Regions from separate parts of the Homo sapiens genome. Here all the other regions are linked to region 1. The links are contacts of gene promoters, found by promoter capture Hi-C in blood cells and fetal thymus (Javierre and others, 2016). All regions are on one chromosome and are shown on one strand. Each heading gives the region's core, a stretch centred on a gene start or on the middle of the fragment in contact. The rest is flanking DNA. Distances are from core to core; before and after follow the strand shown.

The links. The method cuts DNA at HindIII sites, captures the fragments that hold promoters and counts their contacts. A CHiCAGO score of 5 or more calls a contact.
Region 2: a fragment that was not itself captured here is called in contact with the fragment with the promoter of KIF21A in region 1 in 2 of 17 cell types (total CD4 T cells and naive CD8 T cells); the score reaches 5.4 in total CD4 T cells.
Region 3: a contact is called between a fragment that was not itself captured here and the fragment with the promoter of KIF21A in region 1, in 1 of 17 cell types (total CD8 T cells). The highest score is 8.3, in total CD8 T cells.

What each region holds. Positions count from the first base shown.
Region 1 is chr12:39,441,211-39,444,390 of GRCh38, reverse strand. KIF21A (kinesin family member 21A) reads left to right here and starts at 1,271. Exons shown (of 38, transcript NM_001173464.2): 1 at 1,271-1,464. The coding sequence starts at 1,421. RefSeq lists enhancers at 601-660, 942-1,442, 2,261-2,330 and a silencer at 741-1,640. The HindIII fragment of the contact is 8,179 bases long and covers 759-3,180 here.
Region 2 is chr12:39,362,864-39,365,900 of GRCh38, reverse strand. It overlaps KIF21A (kinesin family member 21A), which reads left to right. Exons shown (of 38, transcript NM_001173464.2): 7 at 2,688-2,803. Among named protein-coding and RNA genes, the nearest start is that of KIF21A, 79 kb to the left of the region's middle. The HindIII fragment of the contact is 2,463 bases long and covers 399-2,861 here.
Region 3 is chr12:39,338,901-39,341,895 of GRCh38, reverse strand. KIF21A (kinesin family member 21A) reads left to right here. Exons shown (of 38, transcript NM_001173464.2): 14 at 274-391; 15 at 802-990; 16 at 1,532-1,731. Among named protein-coding and RNA genes, the nearest start is that of KIF21A, 100 kb to the left of the region's middle. The HindIII fragment of the contact is 650 bases long and covers 1,349-1,998 here.

The sequences.
Region 1 (3,180 bases), core at 22-2,521:
AACACTTCTTGTTTTTCCCATAGTGTTGCAGCCTTCTCTGAGCCACACTGCTGTATCACTGCTGAACAAGATGATTAGGTATGTGATTGTAGATTGCAGGCATTTGAGGTAGTGCCTTTATTTGGATAGTGCCATTTAATTTGTGATACTATTTCGTATGAAGCCACATGTTTGTTTATAGAGATGTATGGAGCAGTCCACAAAAGATACTCTGTGGCAAAGCTAATAAAGGCTGTTTCCACAGAGCTATCTGAAGGCATGTGGAAGCACAATAGTGACAAACAGAAACCACAATGGGTCAATGTTGAGAGAATCCTGGGATTGGGAGGTGCTTTTTAAAGGCCAGAAGGGAAAGAAAATCAGTTTGGAAGGATTTACTACACAGCAGGTCTTGGTGGATATATTCAGTTCTGGGAACACTTGGCAGTACCAGGGTGCAGTTCATTTACCAGTGTACAAATGATTGAACAGAAAAGCATTCAGGAGTCTCGAATAAATCATTTCCATATCCCACCCGAGCTGGTAAACGGGCGATGAACTGTAGAACAGCCCAGCTGTCCAGAGACAGTGGACAAACCTGGGAGTCCGTTTAGCATGAATGACTGACTCCGGGGAGGGAGGAGGGAGGGCGTTCAGCTGGGGGCTAGGGAAGGGGGTCAAAGTCCAAGCTGCAGAGAGGACAATAAGGCTATGCGTGGGACACAAAGCCGAACCGCAGCAGCAGCTGCCTGGCTCCCGGCGCGCCGCTGAATCAAGCTTCGATTTGAGAAGGGACCTGGCAGCAGCGCGTGCACTAGCTGCTTCCTTCTCCCAGAAGAGCCTGGAAGGGCGCACAGGCTGGTCGCCCTCGGGCGAGGGCAGCCGGCGGCAGGCATCCCTCCCCCTCGCCTCCCTGCCCAGCAGCGCCAGGCAGTGTCCCGACGAGGGCAGGGCGGGGCGCAGGCTGGGGGAGGGCGAGGTGGGGCTGAGCCGCGCGGCGGCGGCTGACGCAGTGCGGGGCGAGGAGCCCGGAGCGCCCTGGCGGGCGTGGAGTCCCCAGCCTGGCCGCTGGGAGGCCGCGTCCCCACCGGAGGGGGCAGGGCGCACTCACCCGGCCGCCCTGAGGCCGCTGGCGGCCTGTTGGCTTCTCCACAGGCGCGCTCGCCGTTCAAGCGCGCTTTGTCCCCGCCCCAGATCCTGGGGGGTGAGCGGTGGAGAAGGGGCGGGCGCCCGCGAGCCGTGAATCACCTCCTCCTCTTGCTGCCTCAGCGCCGCCGCCACCTTTCCATTCAGTCGCCCAACATGGCTGGAGCGCGGCGGAGGTGAGCCGGCCGCCCGCCCGCAGACGCCCCAGCCTACTGCGCCCGAGTCCCGCGGCCCCAGTGGCGCCTCAGCTCTGCGGTGCCGAGGCCCAACGGCTCGATCGCTGCCCGCCGCCAGCATGTTGGGCGCCCCGGACGAGAGCTCCGTGCGGGTGGCTGTCAGGTGAGGACAGTCTGCCGGCGGCGGGCGGCGGGCGGCGGGTTGAGGGCGCGGCAAGGACCTGGCTGTGGCGCGGAGCACCGGCTACCGGGGTGGAGCGACCTGAGGGGCGTCCCGGCCGGGTTCTGCGGCTGAGGAAACTGAGGCAGTGAGTCCCCGCTGGCCTGGCACGCGCGGCCGGGTGCTGGCAGGGCGACTGCGCCGCCCTCACGCCGTCTGTGTTTGCAGGTGGCTGGCGGCTGCGCGGCGCCGGGTCCCTGGGGGGCGTCTTGACTTCTCTGGGGGAAAAGCCCTCGTCACTCCCCTCCGTCCCCTCGCGGGATCAGTCACCTCAGGTCTGGCCGCCTTGGGCTATCGCCTGTCCGGGAGGAGCTGCCTGTGCGCGGGGCTGTGGTGTTCTTTTTTATTAGTTCTAGAATGTCTGTCATACGTGTCCATGCAGCTCCGGCCTTCCCAGGCAGGAGACAAAGCATCTGACTATCAGCGCCGGCGACCGCAGGGCCCGCCGCGCGCCCACTCGGGTTCTGATGTCTGTGCAAATGAGACATCTTTTTCAGCATCACGGGGATCTAGACATGCCCCCGCGTGTGGGTAGAGGAGACAGATCTAGCCTCTTGGGTGTTGGAATGGGAGTGGAATTTAAGGTAAAATCCACTGGGGAGAGGTCTACAGAAGGAGGAAAACTCTTTAGCCAGAGGAAGGGTGAAATGGGTGACTGTGTGAAACATACTGACATTAGGCAGGGTGGATACAATGTAATCGTAACGTTACCCAGGCCAGGGTGTGAGTCTGGAAATACTAGGTACATCCTAGTATTGAAATTATATTTCGGCCAATGACAGGCACGAGTATTCGATGTAATTTCGGCTGTTTTGATACTTATCAAGAAGGAAAGCTCTGATAGTTGCTCATGGAAAATTGCAACATCATCACACTGTGTGAAAAATTAATGAAGCATTCATCCTAGAGTAAGTGCGTGGCTTTCACAGCTCTGAGAGTCTACTGTTAATTCACTTCTCCTTATTTATGCTTTAAGGATTATAAAAATAATCTACACTCCAAGGAATTAGGAACTATTAACAATCTCCCAGTCTTGTAGTCTTTCCAGAAAATTATTCTAAAAATTCTCCCCTCTAAACATTTCTATAGTTACTATTTTAGTGACACATCTTGGGTCAGGCATAGTAATGGCTGTTTCGTATACTTTGTATCTTTAATTAACTTAAATAATAAAATGAGTTTTTAAGTGTTTTTTTTTTTTTTTTTTTTACCACCCAGGGAGGTGACAGTTTTATGACTGGTTAGAATCACCTGTTATAAGGCTTTTGAAGTTTTAATTAGGCCTTCTTCGTTATTCTAGGGCTACTTATCCAATTGTTAGATTAGTCTGTTTCTCCTATTCACTGCTACTACCTCTCTTTTGGCCCTTTAATACCAGTTAATGACTGCACCAGGGTGGAGAAAGGGGAAGGAAAAAGACAGAAAACCCAATAAGAGGCAATTTTGTTAGGAGATCTGATCAAGGAAAGTGAAGAAGGTGCATAAAATATTACTGAAAACAGACAATTTGTCTGTTTTTAGACGTTTGAGATTTTTATATGTGAATTCTCTAGACTATCACAAGGCAGTTTGTTGACCATTCTGTTAAATCCGATGCTTCTTTGCCTGTAGAGCCATGGATGACCCTAAAGTGATGCTGACTGATAAATAACTTGTATT
Region 2 (3,037 bases), core at 381-2,880, 79 kb after region 1:
GAAGCTGGGACCACAGGCGAGTGCCACCACACCCAGATAATTTTTGTATTTTTTGTAGAGATGGGGTTTTGCCACATTGCCCAGGCTAGTCTCAAACTTCTGGGCTCATGCGATTCACTCACCTCAACCTCCCAAAGTGCTGGGATTACAGGCGCGAGCCACTGCGCTTGGCCCAAAATTTAATATTAAGTTATTTCATGGGTGAAGACCTTCAAAGTAGCCTTTTGATAACATTTTATGACAGTCACTTTATTGACTTTGGAAATTGTAATTTTTTTTAGTAATGATTGTTTCAAAATGATAATTTTTCTAGATTATATTAAGAATTAACTTTAATACCATGCCACCTAGTGGCATTTTGATTGGAAAACTCCTTGTGATTTAGTTAGCATAAAGCTTCATTACATGGAAGGAAATATTTTAGAGCAAAGTTTTGTGTTTTAAATTTGTTCTTATTATCTTCATTACAAAACTGGATATTTGTACCTGCACAAATGTAATGACATCCCTAAATTTCTGCGACACCAATAGCATCAGAGTTGTAACCACCCAAGGGATTCTTTTTGCCTGCTGCCCAGATAGAGCTGATTTATCAAGACAGGGGAATTGCAATAGAGAAAAAGTTTAATGCACACAGAGCCAGCTAAATGGAAGACTGGAGTTTTATTACTCAAATTAGTCTCTCCAAAAATTCAGAGACTGCAGTTTTTAAAGTATAATTTGGTGAATGAGGGGGCTAAGGGAGTGGGGAGTGGAGGTTAAATCATATGGGGTCTAAGTGGATTCTTCTTGCTGTCTTCTGTTCCAGGGTGGGATTACAGAACTGCTTGAGCCAGATTACCAGTCTGCATGGTGTCAGCTGGTGCATCAGAATGCAGGGTCTAAAAAAATATCCAAACATCAATCTTAGGTTTTACAATAGTCATCTTATCCATAGGAGCAATTGGGGAGGCTGGGAATCTCGTGGTCTCTAGCTGCATGACTCTTAAATCATAATTTCTAATAATCTTGTGGCTAATTTGTTAGTTTTACAAAGGCATGCTGGTCCCCAGGGAAGAAGAGGTTTGTTTCAGGAAAAGGTTGTTATCATCTTTTCAAAATTCTTTAAACTATAAATTCCTCCTTTAGTTAGCTCAGCATAGGAATGAACAAGGGCAATTTAGAGATTAAAGGCAAGATGGAGTGGATTAGGTCAGATTTCCCTCACTGTCATACTTGTCTCACTGATATGAATTTTGCAAAGGCAGTTATAGAGTGTGTGGTGTCTGCTTTCCTCCCATTAATCACCCCCCAATATTTACTCCTATATGATTATGATCCGTCTATGGGGAAATTACCAACCAAGCCTGATTAGAGAGAGCCAGACCTTCCAACTCCAATACTCATCTTGATGGTCCGACATGTGGGTGAATGTTGTATAAAATGGCATGCCTGGATTCTGGACTTCTTGCATTGTTTTGAGTTTCTTAGGAGATATAATCATGGTGGTATTTACATTTATGTTGTCAGGAAAAGACAAAAGCCATTGCTTTGTTTTCCTCTTTAGGCTCTTGAAGCATGTTGAGACATATCTAGTAGAGTTTCAGTATTACCATTGCTTATGACAGTAGCTGCTCTGGAAAGGGGGAATGATGAAAAAGTGTGATCCTGTTGCCACTCCCTGCATGATCTATTTTTCCTAACAAAGTCATGGTTATAGATGTTTGCATTACTGATGGCCAGTGTGAACAACATTTTGGATAATGTTTATCTTGTAGGTGATAATTCAGTGACAGTAGGAAAAACAGCAGGGTGGCAGGAGTGACTACAGAGTTCTGTAATTTGACTAGTTTTTAAATAATTGGATGCTAACACATATATTATTGTATTTATTTATTTATTTTGAGGCGGGGTCTCACTCTGTTGCCCAGGCTGGAATGCAGTGGTGCAATCCCAGCTCACTGCAACCTCCACCTCCCAGGTTCAAGCTATTCTTCTGCCTCAACCTCCCAAGTAGCTGGGACTACAGGCACACACCACCACGCTTAGCTGATTTTTGTATTTTCAGTAGAGATGGGGTTTCCCCATGTTGGTCGGGTTGGTCTCAAACTCCTCACCTCAGGTGATCCCCCCACCTTGGCCTCCCAAAGTGCTGGGATTATAGGAATGAGCCACTGCACCCAGCCCATCTTATTGTATGTCTAAGGATAGATATACTTGCATAGGAATACCTTGTTCAGAGAAATAATACTGATTTTTTTTGTTGTGATTAAAGAAGGTTTTCTTTTCCCGTGGGAACTGTATTGCAAAACGAAAATTTGCATCAAACTGTTAAACTAACTAAACATTTTATTTTTACATTGAGTTGAGGAGAAGAATGCGTAACATGAATGGACAATTTTCTGGGGACATAACCTGATGCTCTGATAATTCTAGGGGTAACTAAAGTTGTCAATCTTATTTCTGTTTCAAAGAATTAGTACTATTAGTACTATAGTACTAATATATACATACGGTATTATATATAGTACTAATATATATGTACTAAATTTTCAGTGACATTGGTTACAAATGTAAAACAAAACCAAACACAAATATTCTTAATTATATTATGTCTCTATATTATTCTCTGTAAACTTTCTTTATTTAAAATTGTTATAATTAGTAAATTTGTATCATTTTGCTGTCTTTCTTTCTCTTTCTTTTAGTTGGCACTTGGCAATGTAATAAGTGCCTTGGGAGACAAGAGCAAGAGGGCCACACATGTCCCCTATAGAGATTCCAAGCTAACAAGACTACTACAGGATTCCCTCGGGGGTAATAGGTATGCATAGATGATTATCCTCTACTCAGACTTTTGATTATTCATTATTAAATAAGCTTGTAAGATGATTTATAAGAACTACTTTTATTGCAAAGCAAACTAATAGGATGAGGAACTAATCCTTATACTGTTAAGGATCTCAAATGTGTGAATAATTTTGTATGTTATTTCACATAATCCTAGCATCCCTTGAGGTGTAGGTATTATTATTCTATTTTCTAGATAAGGGAAATG
Region 3 (2,995 bases), core at 424-2,923, 100 kb after region 1:
TCTTCAGAGATACAAGCTATAAAATATTGACAACTCTCAATCTTATGTATTGTGAAAGCATTGTGTTGGGGAGTCAGGGGTAGAATACTATGAGAGATGAAATACTTTTTGATTTAAGACAAAATTACTCTGTAATAACCTTAACATTTTTATACTGATGACAAGTGAATTTTTTTATGTTTCCGTACTTTGTACTCCAGCAGCCTCTCTCAATGAGGGAGTCAGTTTGTTTTGCCAATATTGTGCTATTAATTTTTACAAATCACATTTTAGGAAGAAAGTCAAGAAGTGAGTGATCATGAGGATGAAGAAGAGGAGGAGGAGGAGGAGGAAGATGACATTGATGGGGGTGAAAGTTCTGATGAATCAGATTCTGAATCAGATGAAAAAGGTACTTGCCCTTTGGTATAAGGGCAAAAATTCATTTTGGGAAGTTGTTTAAACCATGACAGAAAACTCTTAACATTCTCTATTTCATACTTGATGAAAGAAACTTCTGTGACCACTGACCTACATTTGCCTTCCAAGGCTTATGTGCTAAACAAATGAGTTACTTCTCTTACTGGATTTAGTCATTGTGTGATTTCCATTCTTACCTAATACAAATAGCATTGTCCTTGACCAAAATGAACACTCTTTATCTCATTCACCTTTTGGTTGTTGGTTTTTCCAGGAAATTTTTCTAATAACTACTAAGTGAATAAAAATACCTAGTTGATGGTTTTTATGGTCTGCTTGAAAGCTAGAATTCTGATATTTTGGCCTAGCACCAGGATTTTTATTTTCTTCTTTTATAAATAGCCAATTATCAAGCAGACTTGGCAAACATTACTTGTGAAATTGCAATTAAGCAAAAGCTGATTGATGAACTAGAAAACAGCCAGAAAAGACTGCAGACTCTGAAAAAGCAGTATGAAGAGAAGCTAATGATGCTGCAACATAAAATTCGGGATACTCAGCTTGAAAGAGACCAGGTGCTTCAAAACTTAGGTAAGAATTATATTTAATTCAAATGAAAGTTCAAGCTAAATCTTCAAAATGGGTTTTTATCTTTTCCTTTAGAAGAAAAAAAATAGAAGCCGTATTAAACCCTTTTTTGTTATTTATTTGTTTTGTTTTTGCAAGTCAAAGTTTGTGCCTTTTATTTAAAAGTTATATGTAGCTTGTAAATACTTTTTGGCCACATTATATGTTAATTTGTCTCATAATGTTAAATATTGTTATTTGTTTTGTTTTTTCATACCGATATCTGCCTAGGCTGTTTACTTACTTTATACAAATTTATGGTTGTTTTAATGTTTTGATTTATGTTGGGGACATTTTAACATAACATATTAATAAATAAGCTTCAATAATCATTAAACAGGTTAAGAGTAGATAATAAAAGAGAGAATGATTGAAAGACACCCTAGTCTTCTGAGATGTGGGTGTTTGGGAAGTAGCTCTTCTCTTAGGATATGGACTGTAAATCTGTGAAATAAAAATCTGTGTCTCACAAAAAAACATATAAAAATGTCCTCTGGTCATTTAGGCTCGGTAGAATCTTACTCAGAAGAAAAAGCAAAAAAAGTTAGGTCTGAATATGAAAAGAAACTCCAAGCCATGAACAAAGAACTGCAGAGACTTCAAGCAGCTCAAAAAGAACATGCAAGGTTGCTTAAAAATCAGTCTCAGTATGAAAAGCAATTGAAGAAATTGCAGCAGGATGTGATGGAAATGAAAAAAACAAAGGTATTGATTATTTTTTTCCATTAACGTTTGATGTTCAGTATGATTTTGTCATTTGGGACAAAAAATAAACAACTCTTGTGGTTCTTTCCATATTCGATAAAGGTAACCCAATCTTACAAATGATGTAATTTCCTTTGGCAATTAGAAGTTGTTTCTAATAGTCATTCCTCATCCAAGCCTTTCTTCAGAGTAGCTGAAAATCATGTGCTCATCAGGGCTTCTTAGACATTGATAGGTATTTCTTCTCTTAAAACTCTTATGCAAGCTTAACAAAAGTATAAAATATTTCAAATATGCAAGAAAGCATACATAATAACAAACACTGTATCCACAGTCTAGTTTAAAATATTAAGCATTACAGATATACAGTAAGCCTTCTGTTTATCTCTTCCTGATCATATTCCCCATTCTCCAATAGCTAATAACTGTCTTAAATTTAGTGTTTATAATTCCTATACTTAGAGAAGCACTAATTTTCTTCCCCTGTCCAAAGAGAGTGTGCAAATCCTGATCTGTTATCTGTTTTTGATTAATTATTCTTTACATCTTTCATGAAAGTCAGTGTAGTTTTCTTAAAATAACAATAAAATAGCAAATATGGAAGTGATTTAGAAAGTATAATCATGCATTGCTTAATGATGGTACATTCTGAGAAATGCATTTTTAGGTGATTTCATTATTGTGCAAACATCATGGAGTGTACTTATACAAACCACGATGGTATAGCCTACTACACACCTAGGCTATGTGGTATAGCCTGTTGCTCCTAGGCTACAAACCTGTACAGCATGTTACTATGCTGAATACTCTAGGCAATTTTAACACAATGCTAAATATTTGTGTATCTAAACATATCTAAACATAGAAAAGGTATTGTAAAAAATACAGTAAAAAAGATAAAAAAATGGTACACTTTTTTTTTTTTTTTTGAGAGGGAGTCTCGCTCTGTTGCCCACCTCCCAGGTTCAAGCAGTTCTCCTTTCTCAGCCTCCCCAGTAGCTGGGACTATAGGTGCACACCACCATGCCCAGCTAATTTTTGTATTTTTAGTGGAGACAGGGTTTCACCATATTGGTCAGGCTGGTCTCAAACTCCTGACCTCAGCTGATCCACTAACCTCGACCTCCCAAAGTGCTGGGATTAAAGGCATGAGCCACTGTGCCCAGCCAAAACTTGTATACTTTTACAGGCATTCCTGATTTTACTGTGATTTGCTTTATTACCCTTTGCAGATATTGCATTTTTTACAAATTGAATGTTTGTG